Regions from separate parts of the Homo sapiens genome. Here all the other regions are linked to region 2. Evidence: promoter capture Hi-C in human tissues and cell types (Jung and others, 2019). All regions are on one chromosome and are shown on one strand. The core of a region is centred on a gene start or on the middle of the fragment in contact, and the rest is flanking DNA. Distances in the headings are between cores, read along the strand shown. Region 1 has its middle 61 kb from the start of LINC03076. Region 2 holds the start of GPR85 (G protein-coupled receptor 85). Region 3 overlaps IFRD1 (interferon related developmental regulator 1).

The links. Contacts are between HindIII fragments. The study calls those that stand out against the background at their distance.
Region 1: a contact is called between a fragment that was not itself captured here and the fragment with the promoter of GPR85 in region 2, in 1 of the 25 tissues and cell types used here (spleen).
Region 3: a contact is called between a fragment that was not itself captured here and the fragment with the promoter of GPR85 in region 2, in 1 of the 25 tissues and cell types used here (hippocampus).

What each region holds. Positions count from the first base shown.
Region 1 is chr7:112,554,995-112,558,618 of GRCh38, forward strand. No RefSeq gene overlaps it. Among named protein-coding and RNA genes, the nearest start is that of LINC03076, 61 kb to the right of the region's middle. The HindIII fragment of the contact is 4,517 bases long and covers 1-3,624 here.
Region 2 is chr7:113,084,553-113,088,429 of GRCh38, forward strand. It overlaps GPR85 (G protein-coupled receptor 85), which reads right to left and starts at 2,275. Exons shown (of 3, transcript NM_001146267.2): 1 at 1,770-2,275; 2 at 1,440-1,557; 3 at 1-339. The coding sequence starts at 169. RefSeq lists a silencer at 1,961-2,020. The HindIII fragment of the contact is 9,773 bases long and covers 1-3,877 here.
Region 3 is chr7:112,461,999-112,465,775 of GRCh38, forward strand. It overlaps IFRD1 (interferon related developmental regulator 1), which reads left to right. Exons shown (of 12, transcript NM_001550.4): 7 at 3-181; 8 at 272-380. Among named protein-coding and RNA genes, the nearest start is that of IFRD1, 13 kb to the left of the region's middle. The HindIII fragment of the contact is 4,639 bases long and covers 1-3,570 here.

The sequences.
Region 1 (3,624 bases), core at 765-3,264, 530 kb before region 2:
GAAGTTACAAAGTCTGTCCACAAATAAGTTGGTACACACATATTTATGGTAGCATTCATCATAATAGTCAAAACATGGAAACAACGTAAGTGTCCATCAATAGACAAATGGATAAACAAAATGTGCTATATCCAAAAAATAGAATATTACTTGGGCATAAAAATGAAATATGCGTACTACAACATGGATGAACCTTGAAATCGTTATGCTAAGTAAAAGAACCCAGTCACAAAAAACCACATATTATTTGATTCCATTCCTATGAAATGTTGTGGAGGAAAAGTTAAATATTAAATTTGAACTCAATTGAATGTGGACACAAACAGTGGTCACCAAGTCCCAGAATAGGTTGTGTGAGCCCCTTGAGGCATTCATCCTGTGCTGTTTTGGAAAAATCTCTATTTCAATCTATTCCTATATGTTAGTTACTGAAAAAACAATAGACAATCACAAAAACAAGTTGACCTTTTTTGTTCCTTGAGCCCAGTCGTGAAGGGCCCTCATGGCTGGGCCTCATGCCAAACAACTAGTTACAAAAAGAGTTAGGGTCCCAGACTGCACCGAAGCTTCATGAGACCTCTCCTTGTCTGTGCACGGACGGGAGGCCAACTCTGGAGCCCAGGCTGTTGCTTCCCAGTCTGGTGGTGAATCCTCCATAGTCTGATGAGTGTAAATATATATATAATACATATATTTAGTGTAAATATATATATATCTTTTTCCTTCTCCCCTTCCCATTGCAATTTGCTTATTATATCATTTGCTTATTATATCTGCATTGCCATTTACATGGGATAAAGGTTGTTTACCCCTAAACATATTGTTTTTGTGTCTTTTCTTCTCCCCTCGTGCATTTCCCACACAGAACAAATGTCCAGAACAGATAAATCTATAGAGACAAAGTAGGCTAGTGGTTGTTTAGGGCTAGTGGAAGACATAGGCTGTGAGATTTCTTTTTGACATGATGAAAACCTAAAATGGACTGGTGATGGTTCCACATATGTGTAAATAAACTAAAAATCAATGAATTGTACACTTTAAATGGGTGAATCATAGGTATGTGAATTATATCTCAATAAAGCTGTTAAATGAAAATTTAAAATAACTTTAGTGACTTACACAATAAAATCTAAACTAGTCCCACTCCACTCTGCCCTCTGTGCAGAGTCTCAGGCTCAAAAATCTCTCCGCACTGTACTCCACAAATTATGAAGTCCATCCTGACTCAATGTTTTGTCCACACGCTAACTGATAGAGTTTGAATATTTGTGTCCTCCAAATCTTATGTTGAAATTTGATCACCATTGTTAGAGGTGAGGACTGGTGGGAGGTGTTTGGATCATGAGGGTGGATCCCTTATGAATGGGTTGGTGCCATCATTGAGGTAATGAGTGAGCTCTTGCTCTGTTAGTTCCCATGAGATCTGATTGTTAAAAAGAACATAGCACTTTCCTTCCCTCTCTCAATCTCTGTCCCTCTCCTTCTCCTCCTCCTTTCTTGCCATGTGACAAATCTGCTCCCACTTTGTCTTCTGCCATGATTGGAAGCTTCCTGAGGCCTTACCAGGAGCAGATACTGGTGCCATGCTTCTTTTGCAGCCTGCAGAACTGTAAGCCAAATATACTTCTTTTCTTTGTAATAACCCAGCCTCAGGTACTCTTCTATAGCAACACAAATGAACTAAGACACTGTCCCTGATGCTCCAGACTGCTCCATGTGTGCAACTGACTCCTGCTCATGCTGCAGCTTCCTTTGGTCAGAATGTCTTTCCCAGTGGCCCTTTTCTTCTGAGGTCTGCCAAGCAAACACCTACTCATCTTCCAAGTCTAGTCACTAGTCACCTACATTTCAAAACTTTATGCAACCACATGAATGTGTCATGAAGGCTTTCTTGCCAGGCTGAATCAACCACTTCCTCTTTTGCACTCTTCTACACCTGTACAAGCTCTGTCACAGCATCTCTAGAGCTTGTTTGCTTACCTGTTTCTTTCTCCTTTATTAGGCAGCTTTTCAGTGGCGGGGATATTGCTGTATTATTATTATTATTATTATTATTATTATTATTATTATTATTATTATTTTTTGAGACAGGATCTCGCTCTGTCCCCCAGGCTGGAGTGCAGTGGTGCAATCTTGGCTCACTGCAAGCTCCACCTCCTGGGTTCATGCCATTCTCCTGCCTCAGCCTCCCAAGTAGCTGGGACTACAGGTGCCCGCCACCACGCCTGGCTATTTTTTTTTTTTTTGTATCTTTAGTAGATACGGGGTTTCACCGTGTTAGCCAGGATGGTCTCGATCTTCTGACCTCGTGATCTGCCTGCCTCAGCCTCCCAAAGTGCTGGGATTACAGGCATGAGCCACCCGCACCTGCCCACTGTATTATTTTTATTCTACATCTTCTACTTGCTTGATTCTGGAGCTGCACACACTTGCTAGCCCTTATCTTCCACATACCATACCCAAATCAGAGCTTATTGCAAGAGCACAGGTCAGACAGGCCTATCTTGGCCTCACACTTATACCCTGCCCCTGCTGCTCTGTGGTCCTGCGTGTTCTCATGGTTGCAGAGACTCTCTTTCCAGATTATTTCTCCAAATGCTGAGCCCAAATATTGACCTCTGACCCATGCCACCATGCTTTTGCCTGTGCTGTGCAGCCTGACTGGCCCCCGCTGTCCTTGTACCTCTGGAAGTTGACTGCAGCCTGTGTACTGGACTGTGAGCTTTGCCAGGTTTCTCCAGTTTAACTTGAGAGCTCAAACTCCAAATTCTGTTTTGCTTTAAGATGTATGAGACCCAGGTCCCCAGCCGGTGCTCTGCCTAAGCTGTCCCAATTCAGCTCCTGTTTCTGCCCACCTTGATCAGTCTTATCCCATATTAGCTATATCTCGTATGGTTTCCTCTGACCCTAACCCCACCCTCTCCTATCTGCATAGTTTTCTCTTTTACCCCTAAGACTATATTAGATACTCTGCATGCTGACAGCTTCCTATGCATATACCAAGTGCTTATTATAGCACTTAACAGTCTATCTTGTAATTATTGCTTATCTGTGTGTCTCCCTCTCCCATTGGCCTCTGGACTCATGCTTGTCAACTTTTTCCTACTTGGACATGTTATAGATAATTTTTATTTGCTGACACACCCCCATTGATTTACCCAGATGGTGAGCTGTAGCAAAGACAAGATAGTGTGTGGATTATTTGTAGTTTATGATTTGTAACTCTAGCCCTTTTATTCCTGCTAAATAATGTATATCACAATGACAGTAAATGACTACAAAGTTATAAGGATAATAATCTGTTTTTTATAACAAATTTTAAAAAGTAAACATTTCACCAACTTTAGTACTTTCTTATCAATAGCAAATTACTTGTGCTAGCCTTCCAAGATGGCTGTACCACATGACTATGTCATTAGGGCATTCTTGCCAGATCCTGAGTTCCTGAGAGCTGGAGTTATATCACATTTATCACTGTAAACCCAGCATCTCACACAGTTCCTGACAATAACAGGCACTCGGTATATGTTTGTTTAATTGGTGGCTGGTTGATGAATTATAAAATGAGATTAATTTTTAAAATTCACTGGGTTTGCTTAAACACCAGGAGACTGAGGCTATCTC
Region 2 (3,877 bases), core at 1,025-3,524:
AGTAAGGTGCTCTATGCAAGGTCTTATCTTTCACTAGCAAAATGGAGATCAGGAGGTTGCCCACCACGCTGACTCCTATTATGAAACCCAAGGAAGTCAGTTTCAGAAAGGCTGTTAGAGGCGAGAGATTTTGCAAAATGTTGTCAGCTGCATGGCTATAGTTCGCCATAGATGGATGGAGGATAAGGATACAGCCTCAGTCAAGTCTCATGATCTAGATATAAGAACAAGGAAAAGATAGATCCATACATTTTACTGAAAATATAATCCACAAAGAGAACTGATCTGATCTGCAGTCATGCTTCCTCTTTTCTTCCACTTGTTTTGCCATCAGAATATCTGAAAAAAAAAAAAAAAAAAACCTATCAGTTCTTAAGTTAACAAGCAATGATGTCAGACAGTGCTAACAAAGCTGTTCACTTATGGGGAAGCAAATAAAGTTTTAATTTTGAATACTAATATTTGCTTTACTAAATATTTTTGCTCGAGATTTCAGAGAATTGGCTTGTTTAGTTTTTCAAGCTAAGTGAATTTTAAAATGTCCCTATTTTGGACAATATACATTTGATAGGGTAACTTTAGGAGAGAAGGAATAAAATGTCCCATTCTTGTAAAATATGCCAGTCCAGGAATTAACCACTAGAATTGCAATGGAATCTACAAGATTGCTATTAGGAGGCAGAGACACTACCTACATTTATTTGAGATCTATTAGTATCTGTCAGTGTTTCACAGGCAGCTTCTCTGTTTGATGTGGGTCCAAAGAACCCGTGCAAAATATATCTTAAGTGCCACTATTCATGCTGCATAAGAGTATTTGTTGATTCATCTTAAAGCAAAATTTCAAAATTAACTTCAAAATTAATAGGAACTTACTTGTCCCAAGATTTGATGTGATTTAATCATTTGTCTTTCCCTCTCCACCCTACCCCCCATTTCTGGCAAATCTTTTAAGCCCACATGATTATTAAAATGGTTAATGTAAATATTGGACAGGGAAACACACCCAGAGGAATAATGCACTTCCATTTGTAAACCTTGGCTGCCTGGATTCAAATGAATATAACATGAACCTGTATTTCTTGGGCAATTAAGCCTTTCCCATTTACACTGATAACCTTTGTTGCAAATCACAAGTGGCTGCTTTTTAAAACAAAATGCACATTGTCTCGCAGGTGCCTGGACCACACCAGGGAAATCGGCTTCCTCTGTTATTCCCACCAAGCGTGTTTCTTTTGCCACTTCTCACTGGCCCGGAATATGCTGGTGGAAGCCCAGGCAAAACTGCGTTCGATGATTTTAATTTCCCCACCGGTACATCCTCGGGTAAATACCGATCGCATCATGCAACATTACGAAACCTGAAATCCGCCACCCCTGGATTTATAATGGGGGGAGGGTGGAGGAGGGGGAGAGGGAGAGAGACATGCATTACATACGCGAAGATGGGGAGAGAGATTGCTTCTGTGCTGCAAAGGAACCGTTCCCGGTGATTCGCAGTCTGATATTCCTCAGTCTTGTAAGGCTTTCCAGAAATGGAGCTCTCAGTAAGCCCTACTGAAGATGCATTGTCTGAATGTACTTCCATTATGCAGTTTATTGTCACAAAACACATACACACACACACACACACACACACACAGAGACACACACACACACACACACACACACAACCTGAGGGAGGGCTCTTTCTCGGTGAACCTGCAGTTTCATCAACACTGTGCATTCCCCCACATCCCCCAAACTTAACCAAGAGTATATCCTCCTACCTGTTGGTGTTGGATATCCCGACAGACTATAGCTTCTTTCTATAAATTGCTGATTTTTTTCTTTTTTTCTTTTTCTTTTTTTTTTTTTTTTTTTTGTTTTTTGTTTTTTTTTTTTTTTTTTTTGCCTTAGTGCCTTGACTGAGCATCCAGGCAGGGCTCGGCGGCGCCTGCGCGCTGGAGCCTCCTTGAGCTCCAGCCGCGTCCTCCCCTGTCGCAGCGGCACCGTCTCCCCCAGTAACGCAGGGGCCGCGGCGGCGGCGGCTGCGGTGGCGAGGGCGGCGGCGGGGCTGCTTCAGCCTCTGTGGAACCAGCAGGAACCCCTACCTGACTCCAGAGCTGGCTGGGTTTATTGACTGCCCTGTCCAATCCAACTGGCAGCATTAAGCTTTTGTCCCTTCGTGGCTGCTTCTGAACTTTTCCCTCCCCGCATTTGTAGTGGGGGGCTGGAAAGGCCCTTTCAGGACCTCAGGCCCATCCTCTTCCCAAAGGCAGCGCACGAGGAAGTCACAGTGCCCGTGACGCCCGCCCCCTCCCTCAGCTTCCCGGAACCCTAACCTTCCCCAGACACTTTCTTCCCTTTTCTTTTAGGGTGGTCCAAACCACCGGAGGCTTCTTTTATATATTTATTTTTAAGTGATGTCTCCAGCTAACCTTTAAATTTGCAGGTTAGCTGGAAAAAGACAAGAAAAGAATGGGAAAAAAGAAAAAAAGTTATTTATTTATTTATTTATCTTTTTCCCACAGTTAAAAATCTTTTCAATGGGGAAGAAGGGAAGGCACGTTAGGGCAGCTCTCTCTTTGTTAGTCATCTTCTATTCTCCAATGCACGCAAATATGCGTAAAAGTAGGGAGAAAGCTAAGTTCAGAGGACAACTACAATATGATTTACATTCAGTCTACCTTAAAGGATGTCACTAAAGAATCAGGCTTATAAAATGTTTAAATGGCTATTCCTGGCATTCCACCCCACCAAGCAACAGTATTCCTTTTCCCTTCTTACAAGTTCCGCTGACCAATGATGGGTGATGTCAAAGCAGTTATGTGTACGAGTTTCCTTTTTTCCCCTTTGTTATTACAGATGAAAAATACTAGAAATATAACAAATACGTAAAACTTACACCAGTCCAAACGGTCGGATGATACCACAGACACCACAAAGCCTGACACGTGGGTGCTTAGGAATGCCTCTAGAATCATGCATTTTCTTATTTTACCATTTCCGAAGAGTTTTGTTTGTGGAGGTGATATAAAATTTTAAGCAACAACTTCCCAGTTCTCCTACCCAAAACTAGCAGACACGCTTTCATTAATTCCCAATGTAAAACGTCTGCTTCTTTTTCTGCATGCTTTTTGCTTTATAATAATCTGTTAATGAAACAAAAAATAAAAATCTTCTCTACAGTAATAATCTGATCTTGAGACAGCAGTAAAATACCTCATTGCTGGGTGGTGAGATTGTGACATTCAGGGGAACTCAGGCCAATCAGCATACAGATAATATGGGTTAATTTACATACTGTATTTCTATTGGATGAGCCGAGGTAAAGCCTTATCTTGATGTCACAGTCGTTACACAAAGCCCTATGTTGGTAATACTGAAATGATGTTAAATTTCCCTGATTTGTTCTTGAATTTCCTACGTCCATTTAAATACATGGATAATAGTTTGTTTTTTTCGAAAAGAATATACACAAGGCACTAAACTTTGGCATTCCCTTAACCTAGAAAAATCAATCCTACAGCCATGCTGGAAGTAACTTGAGGGCATTTCCATTCAAATAAAACATTCCACTTTTTGCAAAGCAAATGAATTCAAAACTCAAAACCATGTGGTGGTTTGCAACTTCTAAGTAAAATGTCAAATTCGTTTTTATGAAACTACAAATCACTTCAACTTGTGCTTTTTTGCTTCCCAATAAATGCTTCAATGTACTTTGCAAAGAGTTATTTCCTGAATTTTTACAGTTTTAAAAAATGTATGGAATAAGAGGCTTAAGTTTGCTGAAGATTCATGATTGGTCAGATGTTAGGTTGTACAGATTAGGGAAAAGCTATTTTAAAGTAAATTAAAAGAGTCACTGCACTGCCAGGCCATGAAGCAGTAATAT
Region 3 (3,777 bases), core at 1-2,500, 620 kb before region 2:
AGGAACTATACTCAACTCTGGAATGTTTGGAAAATATCTTCACTAAATCCTATCTCAAAGAGAAAGACACTACTGTTATTTGCAGCACTCCTAATACAGTGCTTCATATCAGCTCTCTTCTTGCATGGACACTACTGCTGACCATATGCCCAATCAATGAAGTGAAGAAAAAGCTTGAGATGTATGTATTTTTAGTTTCATATTTTATAAAAGCAACATTTAGTGGACATAATTGGTTGTATTCACATAGTAATGACTAACTATTTTTTAGGCATTTCCATAAGCTTCCAAGCCTCCTCTCTTGTGATGATGTAAACATGAGAATAGCTGCTGGTGAATCTTTGGCACTTCTCTTTGAATTGGCCAGAGGAATAGAGAGTGTAAGTATCTAACTGGCAGAGGAAAAAGCTTGTGTCACAAGGCCCATTGTTCCATCATTACCTTGCAATTGAGAATTGGGCAATAACTTTGGAACATGGCCAGCTTGAGAACCCAGTGATTTATTTCCCTACTTCTTGGCAGTGGTGGTGTAATACTTTAGAGAGCAGAAACCAGTAGGGGTTGGTACAGCAGTGTTTGACTGTGGTTCATTATACTTAATTTTTGCTATCTATAGAACTGAAGTTTAGGGATCCTCATGGAGAGAGTTTTGTCTAATATAATCTTTATGAAACTGCTTGAATTTCTCAGATACCCAATACATCAAGCTAATGAAGGCATGTGATGCTTCATAATTAATATCAAACAAATGAATAAAATATTAAGTCAGCATAGGTTTGGGATGAGATGGGTTCAGTAACTTCTCTAAGCCAAAGATGGAAATAAACACTGCTCATTAAGACTGGGACATGTGCTTTGCAGTTACCCATTCACTTGTCCACTCACAGATGTTAGTTACCATGGCTTGGCTCTCGAAGGGATTTGAGTTTGTGATAGTTTGATCAGTCGACCCAATTTGCTTTGTACCTGTTTTTGGTTTAGCACTTACCATCTTATGTTCCAGGAAATCCTTTATCTCGGGCAAACTGGGTCATTTGGTAACCCTAATTTGTCATCTCTATTTTAAGGATTGCTAAGAGAAAGGAATGCCTCAAATCTTACCATTGGAAGGGAGAATGTATTCTTAAGATATGTGATTCAGATACTGTGCTGATATTTAGAAATGAGGAGCAGGTTTGACTGTCTTCACACTGAATCTGTGAAGGATCCAATAAGAAAACTCAAATATATGGGAAATGGGTAACTAAATAGTAGATATTATTGCCAACCTTGAATTACTTACTAGATGCTTTTTAATTTAAGGAGAAAGAATATATTTTCATTCTGAAACTTTTTTGCATTTAAAGAAGTTATTTAACAGTGAACGGTTCCAAACAGGATTAATACAGTTCTGCCATGTATAGTCATTCATATTCCATTCTAGGCCTGTATTGAAGGAAGTTTACAGTCTTAAAATTTTTATGTGTAAAGTGGCTCTCTCCAACTCCCCTACACTCCTTTTGTTTGAGGGATAGTAGGTAGGAATGGAAAGTAAGTTAATGTTGTCAGTAGCTAATAATTCTCCTTATGTGAGAAATTGGACTCAAATTTAGCAATCAATTTAATTTTATTGAGCTAGTTAATAGCTTCTTAACCTCAACGCATGGAAACCAGATGTCCCAATTTTTAATCTTACATTCCTCTACTGGCCAGAAATGGCAGTTTCTTTTCTTTTTTTTCCTTGGAAATGCATTTTTAAAATGAAGTCATAATGCAGTTTAAATTATACATGTTGAATTTGTTTAAGTTTGTATAAACATATATATAGACACATACATACATGTATATACATATACATATATATACACATTTATATACACACACACACACACACACACACACACACACACACACACACCCCACGTATCTTTTCTCCAACTTAATAAATTACACAGGATAACCAGGAGAACTCATCCAGACATATTTCATTTGACTTGAATTTTTATCCAAGGACAAAAATGAACTGGGTTACAAAACAGAACCTAGTGTTTTTATTTGCTTTTTTTTTTTTTTTTTAAAATAAGCTTTTTATATGTGGGTGCTGGTTGGGGGATAGTTATAGGGTGTTCAAAAATTAAATCCAGGGCGTTAGTGAAATACATAGACAGATTTAAAATAGGGTTCATACAGCAAATGAGTTTTGAATTATTCAAGGCTTTTTGCTAACTGACTTTCTGATGTTACTAACTTTGAAATCTAGTGATGTCATGAATTCTGCCTGAGAGACTTAGAAAAAAAACTTTTGAAGAGCTAACTTTTAGGTTGGATTTTAATGAATGAGTTGGTTAAATAATAATAATAAACTGTGTTCAAAGTTGAAATTAGTAATTATTACTCCTTTATGAGAGTTCTAGGTTAATGGATGTTTGCCATATAACCAATTAGATAATAGTAGACTCTGGAGCTGTTCTGCCTACCTTCGGATCTCTTTCTCTCTTACTAGTTGGATAATATTGGGCAACTTCTCTATGCCTCGGTGTCCTTATCATTAAAATGGATAAATTATTAGTCACAACCTCATAGAGTTTTTGAGAACACATGATAGGTACAGTGTAAGTGTTAGCTGTTACTTGGAATGTTGGTTGAATTGAGTATTGCATTTGGCAGTAGTCTACTAGTGGCCTTTTAGGAACTGTAGAGTAACTTAATATAAGAGACATTATTTGGTGGGCAGAATTAAGATCTTGGGAGCCATTGCTGGTGCAATCCTCACTTGGGAAAATTTAACAAAATATAGTTAGACCTTTTCCAGGTCTCACCCATTCCATTCCCCAGCTGAGCGGACAGGGGAAGTGCTACAGCACAGCGAGAAAAAAGATAATCAAAGACCAAATATACTCCTTGGAGCCAAATCTGAAATCACCTAGATTTTATACTTCAGAAGCAGCAACTTAGCATTCTTCTTGTTTTTTTGCCCTTGTTTGTATAATAACTGACTCTGTGTAAAAATATCTCCATACCTTGACAAAGATATTCTGCCTTGATTAGCAGGAATTGAAATAAATAAGTCTTTTTAAAGACAGGGTCTCACTCTGTTGCCCAGGCTGGAGTGCAGTGGCAAGATCATACCTCACTGCAGCCTCAGAGTTCTGGCCTCAAGCAATCCTCCCTCCTCCTTCCAAAGTGTTGGGATTATAGATACAGAGCCACTGTGTCTGGCCTCAAGTTTTATTTTAATATTAGGCTTTTGTATGATTTTTATTTCTTAATACTTAGCTATCCAAGACCCAGCTTATTTTGTTTATAATGAGTGTTCCAGTGACTTCTGTATAGAAATAATAGCTTGGGGAATGGTTAGCTTTTGTGACCTTAAGCATCTCACCCTGTCTGCCTAAACTTTTCTGGAAATTTTCTTTGGTTTCATTTCATCCTAATTCCATTCAACTTTTGAAACCATTTAATTGGTAACTGTTATTTTGCTATGAAATAATTATCTTCAGCTGACCAGTTTGTTGTATTTATATTGTGTTAGATTCTGTTGTATTTATATTGTGTTAGGTTCAAACAGGCTGTTCATAACAGTAAGATCTATAACTTAATGGATGTTTATGTCCTGTGTTTTATATATTTCTAATAGTTCATTTCCCTATAAAAAACCTAGGAGATGTGGGTGGTAATAACTGTTATATAAGAGGAGCCTGAGACAGATTGCTAATGTAGTGCTGCCTGAGGTTGTATAGATCTACATGGTGGATGCTTGTGATTCAAACCTAGATGTTCTGACTGCAAAACCTATGT